Regions from separate parts of the Homo sapiens genome. Here region 1 is linked to region 2. The links are contacts of gene promoters, found by promoter capture Hi-C in blood cells and fetal thymus (Javierre and others, 2016). All regions are on one chromosome and are shown on one strand. The core of a region is centred on a gene start or on the middle of the fragment in contact, and the rest is flanking DNA. Distances in the headings are between cores, read along the strand shown.

What was found. The method cuts DNA at HindIII sites, captures the fragments that hold promoters and counts their contacts. A CHiCAGO score of 5 or more calls a contact.
Region 1: a fragment that was not itself captured here is called in contact with the fragment with the promoter of MACO1 in region 2 in 2 of 17 cell types (M0 macrophages and M2 macrophages); the score reaches 5.7 in M0 macrophages.

What each region holds. Positions count from the first base shown.
Region 1 is chr1:25,787,002-25,791,260 of GRCh38, forward strand. No RefSeq gene overlaps it. Among named protein-coding and RNA genes, the nearest start is that of SELENON, 11 kb to the right of the region's middle. The HindIII fragment of the contact is 4,012 bases long and covers 355-4,259 here.
Region 2 is chr1:25,428,985-25,433,259 of GRCh38, forward strand. MACO1 (macoilin 1) reads left to right here and starts at 1,913. Exons shown (of 11, transcript NM_018202.6): 1 at 1,913-2,194. The coding sequence starts at 2,115. It also overlaps a transcript of RHCE not described here. RefSeq lists silencers at 939-1,378, 1,769-2,428. The HindIII fragment of the contact is 6,345 bases long and covers 1-4,275 here.

The DNA.
Region 1 (4,259 bases), core at 1,111-3,610, 360 kb after region 2:
ATCCTTTTGGCAACTTAACTCCATTCCACGGATAAAAATAAGTACGACTCAAGACAGGCCGAGAGGAGAGAGGAATTAAGGGATGACTCATCCTCACTGAAGGTAGGAGAGAGCTTTGCAAGCCACAGAATCTGAACACCCAAACCTCTCACTGAAGGTAGGAGAGAGCTTTGCAAGCCACAGAATCTGAACACCCAAACCTCTCCCTGAAGCAGCCCTCTCCTTCCCCAGCTGGGGGTCAGCCTGTGGCTGCCAAGCTCATTTTAAGCCTCATCTGCGCCCTCGCTGAGGATGGAAGCACCATTTGCACCTGCTTCCCTCATAGAAGGGTGTGATGTCAGCTCCTTCCCAGAAAGCTTCATCAACACCCAGCTCCTGGCACTGAGGTCTGCAGAGCCTCAAGGCCCCGGGAAGGGGGACGAGCAGGGCACAGTCCTTTTCTAGGTGCCTCCCTTTAAATGACTGGCTATTTGGTCAGACCAGCCAAATGCATTGGGAAGAAAAGCAAAAATGGAAAATCTGATTTAAAGGCAGCATCCAAGATGGATGCTCAGTTCCGTTCCCTCTGCTTTGAGGAGGTGACCCCACTGTGGTTTGAGAAAGTGCTAGAGATGAATGGGCCAGCTTCCCCCAGCGTTTCCCCTGGGGGCCTGTCCTTGGAAGTATGGTCATTGGTCATGTGGCACAAAGATGCTCGGCCCTCTGTGACTAATGCTTAATTACACCCTACTGGAGGAAGGGGGCTGATTCTATTTTTTGTATCTGAAAATATCAGTTTGGTTTCCTATATTTGGAGCACTGTTTTGTTCCTGCTCAGCCTGTCTCTTAAGTCAGAGCTTCTCAAACGTGCACAGGAATCACCTGGGAGCTTGTTAAAATCCAGGTTCATGTTCAGCGGCTCTGGCATGGAGCCTGAGATTCTGCCTTTTTTTTTTTTTTTCCTGACACAGGGTCTTATTCTGTCACCCAGGCTGGAGTTCAGTGGGGCCATCATAGCTCACTGCAACCTCCATCTGCAGGGCTCAAGCAGTCCTTCCACCTAGCCTCCTGAATAGCTGAAACTACAGGTGTGCCGCCACATCCAGCTAATTTTTTTTTTGTCGCTACATTTCTCAGGTTGGTCTCAGAATCCTGGGCTCAGGCTATCCTTCCGCCTCAGCTTTCCAAAGTGCTAGGATGGCAGGCATGAGCCACTGTGCCCAGCCAGATTCTGCTTTTCTCTAACAAGCTCCCGGGAGATGCTGATGCTGCCAGTCCTTGGACCACACTTTGAGTAGCAAGACCCCAGTTGGTGGCCACTGCCTTGGTTTCTGCCTTTTATTTGCATCCCTGGAGCTGTAACTGCTCCAGAGTGGAGTAGAGGGGCTCAGGTATTAGGATAGCATCTATAGATACCTTGACTGCAAAGCGACCTACCTTAAAACAGGTGTGTGCCTGCCACCTATGTCAACAGCTCTCCATTCTTCAGGACAGCCAGGATAAGACAGGAGCAGGCTGCTGGTGGCTTAGAACAGTGGCGTCCAATAGGGTCACCCCATGTGGATCTGGAATACTTAAAATGTGGCAAGTGCAATGGAGGAACTAAACTTTTAATTTTATTTCCTTTTTTTTTTTTTTAATTGACCAGAGTCTCGTTCTGTCACCAGGCTGGAGTGCAGTGGCGCGATCTCGGCTCACTGCAACCTCTGCCTCCTGAGTTCAAGCAATTCTCCTGCCTCAGCCTCCCGAGTAGCTGGGACTATAGGCGTGCGCCACCACACCCAGCTAATTTTTTTTTTTTTTTTTGAGACGAAGTCTTGCTCTGTCGCCCAGGCTGGAGTGCAGTGGCTTGATCTCGGCTCACTGCAACCTCTGGCACCCGGGTTCAAGCAATTCTCCTGCCTCAGCCTTCCAAGTAGCTGGGATTACAGGTGCATGCCACCACTCCAGGCTAATTTTTGTATTTTTAGTAGAGACAGGGTTTCAGCATCTTGGCCAGGCTGGTCTTGAACTCCTGACCTTGTGATTTACCCGTCTCAGCCTCCCAAAGTGCTGGGATTACAGGCGTGAGCCACCGCGCCTGGCCAATTTCATTTCATTTTAATTAAATTTAAAGAGCTATGCATTGCTGCTGGCTGCTGTTTTGGACAGTGCAGAATTAGAACTCAGAAAGCAACTACCCTGTTGGTGCTGCAAAGACCTCCATCACCTGCACCACTACATAAATCATGTTAGCAGAAAATACATTGTTTAGGGACTCAAGGATTCCCTTGAACATACCTGGTTATTTTTATACTCATCCCAGCCTGTTTTCTGCACAAGCCTCTGAGTTTGGTTTTGTTTTGTTTTGTGTTTTCTTACTCACTGTCTGCAGCAGGGCATGCAGTGGGTAGGCTGAAGGCAAGAGAGGCAGAGGGGTGCGACAGGAGAGGACAACCCATGTCGGTTTCATACAAGCACAACATTTGAAACTGGTGGACCTGTGTTCAGCTCTGCCCTGCCCTTTTCCAGGACTGTGTGGCCTTGGGCAAGCCCCTTAGTTAAGCTCCTCTGAGCCTCTGCTTTTCCATCCATGGAAAAGGAAAGTGCTTTCAAGGGTTAATCGAGCCTCCCCACCCCACCCCTTGTAAGAACTCAGTGCATCCTAGCAGTGATTGTTATGATGTGAACCTCTTTGTAAACTATAAAACCTTGTGTAAATGTGAGGCAAAACACTGCTGTCAAAAATTCTTCTTTTTAAACAAAATGCTCTGAAACTTGGGGGAAACCGCATCAACCAGGCCCAGGAGACAGACCAAAATCTCAAAGCAATAAATCTGAACGTTTTCTGCTTTTCCCATTGAGGAAGCATTTTGCCATTAGCTAGCCCTGAATCTACAGAAATTGGGAAACTGGGATGAAGATTTGTTGACTGTCCAAGGTCTTCCAGGGACCCGTCTGGTGGTGGGGGATGCTCGGGCAGGGGCCCAGGGCTGAGGAAGATGCCGAGAGCTTGCCCAGGAATGTTTGAGGTCCAATTAGTGTTTCCTCTTCATGGAGTACCTGATAAATCCTGTCTACAAAACTTTGGAAGGGAGATGGGCAGGAAAAGATGGCACCCCCATTTATAGAGGAGGGAACTGAGGCCCTAACAGGCTTGCTCCAGGGTCAGGCTCTGCAGCCCTAGCCACCTCCTGGGTCAACTCCTACATTGCTGATGTCGTACTTTCACCTTCTCCACTGTTGAATTAACCCTAGCCCAAATTTCTGGAGCATCTGCTCTTCCAAAGTCTGACTCAATAGAGATGAGATTCCCAGCAGCTGCCCGAGGTTAGAAAATACCAGCACACTCCTTTTCCTCTGGCAGTTATCCTAGCAAAATCATGCTCCCAGAACCCAGATAACCCAGATCCACGATGTCCTCGCCATCCAGGGACCAGAGCAAGGACAGAGTGTAAACAGCAGAGAACGGAGAAGATGTGGGCCAGCGCCATACCCCTCTGGGCCACTTCTCAAAGAGAGAGACCTTCAGGGATAATTCCATCGTCTTGCACAAGTTACAAAATTTCAACTGTGGCTTTCCCAGGTCTTAGGACCTGCATGGACCACCTTCTCCAGGAATTGAGTTCGCACGGAGATCACTAGAGATGGAGAGGTCAGGGATGGCCCCTGGGGAGCTGACATTTGTGACAGGCTGTGCAAAGAGCATTCCAGGCAGAGGGAACAGTGAATGCAAAGGCTCAGAGGCAGGAAGTGTTGTTGCATCTGAGACACAGAAAGGCAGTAAGCGAGTGGGAGGGTCTGGGGGGTCAAAGGAAGTCGGCAGAAGGGGTTCCATCCCTCAGTGCCTGGTGGGCAGGTAAGTACTTGCTGTGGTTTGAATGTCCCCTCCAAAACTCATGTCGAAATGCAATTGCCTTTGGATGGTGTTAAGAAGTGGAACCTGGCTTGTTAAGAGGTAATTAGACCATGAGGGCTCTGCCCTTGTGAATGCATTAACGTGGGTTGTTCTGAAAGCCGATTCAGCCCTCGCTTGCTTGCTTGCTTGCTTGCTTGCTCTCTGGCACTCTTCTGCCCTTCTGCCTCTGGCCACAAGTGGACGCAGCACGAAGGCCCTTGCCAGATGCAGGCCCCCAACCTTGGATTTCCCAGCCTCTAGAAATACATTCCTTTCTTTATAAATTATCCAGTATGTGGTTTTCTGTTATAGCGACATAAAATGGACTAAGACAGAGTTTAATTTTAATCTGAGAGCAGCAAGAAGCTAGGAAGAGTTTAAAGCAGCACATGAGATGACCCAC
Region 2 (4,275 bases), core at 663-3,162:
CACTGTGACCAGCTCTGGATGCCCTTCGAAACAGAATGGGTTTTCTCTTCCAGGCACTGGGAGATCTTTGAAGGTTTGTGAGCAGAAGAAAGTAACACAGAGTCATGATTGAGGACAACGCATTTGGTGTAAAGTTTCTCCCTGGGGTAGATGTTGATTAAGGGAGGGGTGATTACAGGCCAGAGAGAGTTCTGTGAAACCCAGGACAAAACAAAATGGCATCTACTTCCTGGGAAGTTTTTTTTTTTTTTTTTTTTTTGAGACAAAGTCTCGCTCTCCTGCCTCAGCCTCTCGAGTAGCTGGGACTACAGGTGCCCGCCACCATGCCCAGCTAATTTTTTGTATTTTTAGTAGAGATGGGGTTTCACCATGTTATCCAGGATGGTCTCCGATCTCCTGACCTCGTGATCTACCCGCCTCGGCCTCCCAAAGTGCTGGGATTACAGGCGTGAGCCACCGCGCCCAGCCCTTCCTGGGAAGTTTTAAAAATGCACTGGAAGACTAACTGCCCCATTGTCGTTGAGGGATTACACTGATAAAGCTACTGGATAGGACATTCTGCAATATTTTCAGAAATATTTATAAAAGCTGCATTAAAACATGTAAAAATGCTTATGTTAAAAACAGTATGACTACTATTCTAGTATGACTACTATTCTAGTATGACCACTATTCTATTTAATAGCAATAGTAACATTATCATCCATAGGGGAAAATTGGAAAACAAGCAAATACAATAAAATGTCAACTGTATTTGTGTTAATGTGATGAGACTCATTGGTGTTTTTTCCTTTTCGGCCACTTTCCTACATTTTCCCCAGTTTTCTCTAATGATAAACATTCTTTTTATTTCTCTTAAAAAAAAACACCATGCGGACTTTTCTAAGTGTTACTTTGCCATACGTACGTGGCAGGGGAGTTATAAGGAGTAAATGAGCAAATACACGCAAATTACCCAGCACGGTGCCTGGCATAAAATCGGCGCTCAATGAGTACGAAGCGTGAAGGGTCGCCGGCCCCGCGTCCCCGCCTTGCAGGAGCCCGGACCCGCCGAGCAGGCTCCCGGTCCGGCCCGGCCCGGCCCGGAGGCCGATGCTTCGCGGTAGTGCCCTCGCGGGTCCTGCGGACTCGGCGCCCGCGGGGCCCACAGCGCTGCCCAGCCTGTGGACGTGGAGCCCGGGCCGCACCGCCGCACACGCCCCGGGCATCTCTGCGCTACGTCGCGCGCCCCCACGGCTCCGCCCCGTGGCGTAACCCGGGGCGGGGCCGCCACCTCCGATTGGCCGGCGCGCTGTCACCACGTCGCGGGAAGCTGGCAGGGTGTGTGTCTGTGTGCGTGTGGGGTTTGCTTTGTCATTCGTACCCCCGGTGCGCGCTGACGCGGTCGGCCTGGCCGAGCTCTCCAGCATCCGCAGAAGGGTCCCCGGCGCTGTTCCTGGGATGCTCCCTTACATAATGACGCGACTGGCTGAAGCGCACGTCAGCGCAGACACCGCACATGCCGCAAACCCGGGCCTTCCGATTTCATACATTGCTAGACGAGAGCCTACAATGCCATGCCGTACGGTATGCTCTAGTAGGGATTACAATACAATGAAACGCAACCCAATAATAATAAAGCATACCTTCGCAACAAGGCGTAATATAGGATGTTATATTTATAGGGCCTATTTATAAGCCTCTATTTAAATCTTTTCTGATAGGCTCAGCCGGGGACCCAGACACTATAATGATTGGCGCATTCTTCCGTCCTTCAAAGGGGCGGGTTCTAGAGTCAGTTTTGCCTCAGCGGGCCCTGGGATTGGCCGACAGCGGTTTACCGGTGGCTTCTATTGGCCTCCCGGGCCGTCCGTCGGAGCCGAGGAGGCGGGGCAGGCGGCTGGCTGGTGCTGGGCGGGCGGGCCCCGGAATTGTCATTTCTTTGTTTCCGAAGGCGGAGGAGGCTCCGAGCCCCCCCTCCCCGTGCTACCCCCTCCCCCCGGGTGCTGGCTCCATGTCTGTGTGACCGGCCTCAGGGGTAGAGTCCAGGCCCGACGCGGGGCGGGCCAGCGGCGGCGGCAGCTGAGGTGAGAGACGGCGGCGGCGGCGCGGGCACCCGGCCCCCCAGCGGGAGGATGAAGCGGCGGAACGCCGACTGCAGTAAGCTCCGCCGCCCCCTAAAGCGGAACCGGATCACCGAGGGCATTTACGGCAGGTGAGCGGCTGCACCCCCACTCCGCGGGCGCGGGCCCTGCGGTCCCCCTCCAGCTCCGAGGGGCCTGGCCCCGTTATGTAACCCCGAGTAGGCCGCACGCCCGCGCCGGGGGCTCTCCTAAGGAGCGCTGGCCCCGGAGCCGCTGGCCCGCCCGCCGGGGTCCGCCCCGGGTGCGCGGGGCGTGGCGAGGGTCGGCCCGGCCGGGCGGGCAGGGCGCGGCGGGCGCTGGCTGAGGGAGCCGCCGCGCCGCCGTTGGAAGCGCCGGGCCCGCCGGGGGGAGGGGCGGAGAGCCCCCAACCAGCCCGGCGTTCCTCAGCATCCCGGCCATGCCGCTGGGCCGGGAGGGCCGCTTCCGGGACCTCTGACTGGCCGCCGCTGGCCCCCGAGCCCCCCGGTGGCCTGGGGGCTTGCCGGCCGGAGCCAGGAGGCGCGTGGACCACAGCGCGGGGGGGTGGGGGAGGCTGACAAAGTTGAGAGCCCACTGTGGCCCCTCGTTCCCCCAAGCTGCCAGCATACTGGCCTGGGGCCATGCTGTCACTTCTTTCACCTTCTGCTTCCCATATGGGATCTCAAACTTGGCACCCAGGGCTGAAGCTGATACCCCCAAATCATGCCCTGTGGCCCTGCTCCAGATTCGGAAGGGTCTGATGACCAGTTTTTCAGCAAATATTGTTTTGACAATTCCAAGCAGATAGCTTGCTTTGAACGTTTTTAAAAAGGGATTTTCTCCAAACTCTTTTTTTTTTTTTTCATCCGCAAGAAAAGCAGTGTCCCTTTAAATAGAAATTGAATTCAGTCCACCGGTAGAGAAAGACAACAGGTTCATGGGGCAACTTACTATCATAGCTTCCCCAAGTCGATTTGTGTACGACTGTTATTTTCTGGTTCTTCTCAGAATGTTACTTGTAAATGGTATTTGCCTTGATACAGATTTCGGTGGAGAAGTAATTAGTTTACAAAGAAGAATTCTCAGCATGTGGATGTAGGCTTAATTGAGTCCTCATGGTGTTTTACAATTAGCTTCTCTAGCTGTGGGATTTCAAGAAATATGTGAGGTAGCTGATGACACCCAAGTTGTCTTAACATAACTGTACACCTTGCACATGCTCTTGTTTACAGATGTGGAATGATTGCTTTCCACAAGCAGCTGACTGATGTAAACACTGGGGATTTTCTTCAAGTTTAAAAGCATTAAGGAATCAAAGTAAAAATTTCTTGGGTATATTCTTATAAAATGAGCCATAGAGCATAGGAGTAATTCATTCATTCATCAGTTATATATACTATGTGCCAGGAACATTTCTAATCAGTGAAGATAGAGCAGTGAGTAAAACAGACTCTAATCTATGCTGGATGAATCGAACTTGACCATTTTAACTTGAACTGTGAAAGCAAACAATTTTTTCTACACATAGATGGAGGAAAGGTCTCTTCAATTCACGTTACATACACTATACATTCTTGAATTAAAGAAAGTTTTTCCCCTTTGGCTATTGAAAAATATTTGACCAACTTAACATTAATGGTAACATAAAAATAGGAAAGGGATATTAAACCGAGTTGGTAGACTTAGCACAACTGTGGCATTTGAATAGCTGCTATTTACAGTAACATAAGATGATGTACCTCCATTTATAGCAAGAAGATTGAGAGTCCCATATTGTTTACGTGTTTTCTGCTGTATTTCCATTTCTCTGTACTTGAACAAATAGACCCAGTTTACAACCTGCGCCATAATAGCTACTCAGTGTGAATCGATGTGAAGAAGTGAATTCATCGTTTAATGAAGATTTATCATCTTACTGATGGCTTTTGAAATTTGAATTTTCTTACCCTAAAGGTTAATTGTAAATACTCTTTGCAAGTTATTCAGAGGTTCATCTGCAAAATTTTAAAAACCGACAGTGCATTAGCCTTAAATCTTCTTATGCTTCTCTGTTTTGCATTCTTTAAGTTAAATGTTAATAAAAGACCTAAATGTATTTCTAACTGTCTTTCCTGGTTGGAGTATCATATATCAAATGAGCGTTTCAACTCACTTATCTGTTTCTTGGTTTATATTATGGAGTATTGGACTGAAG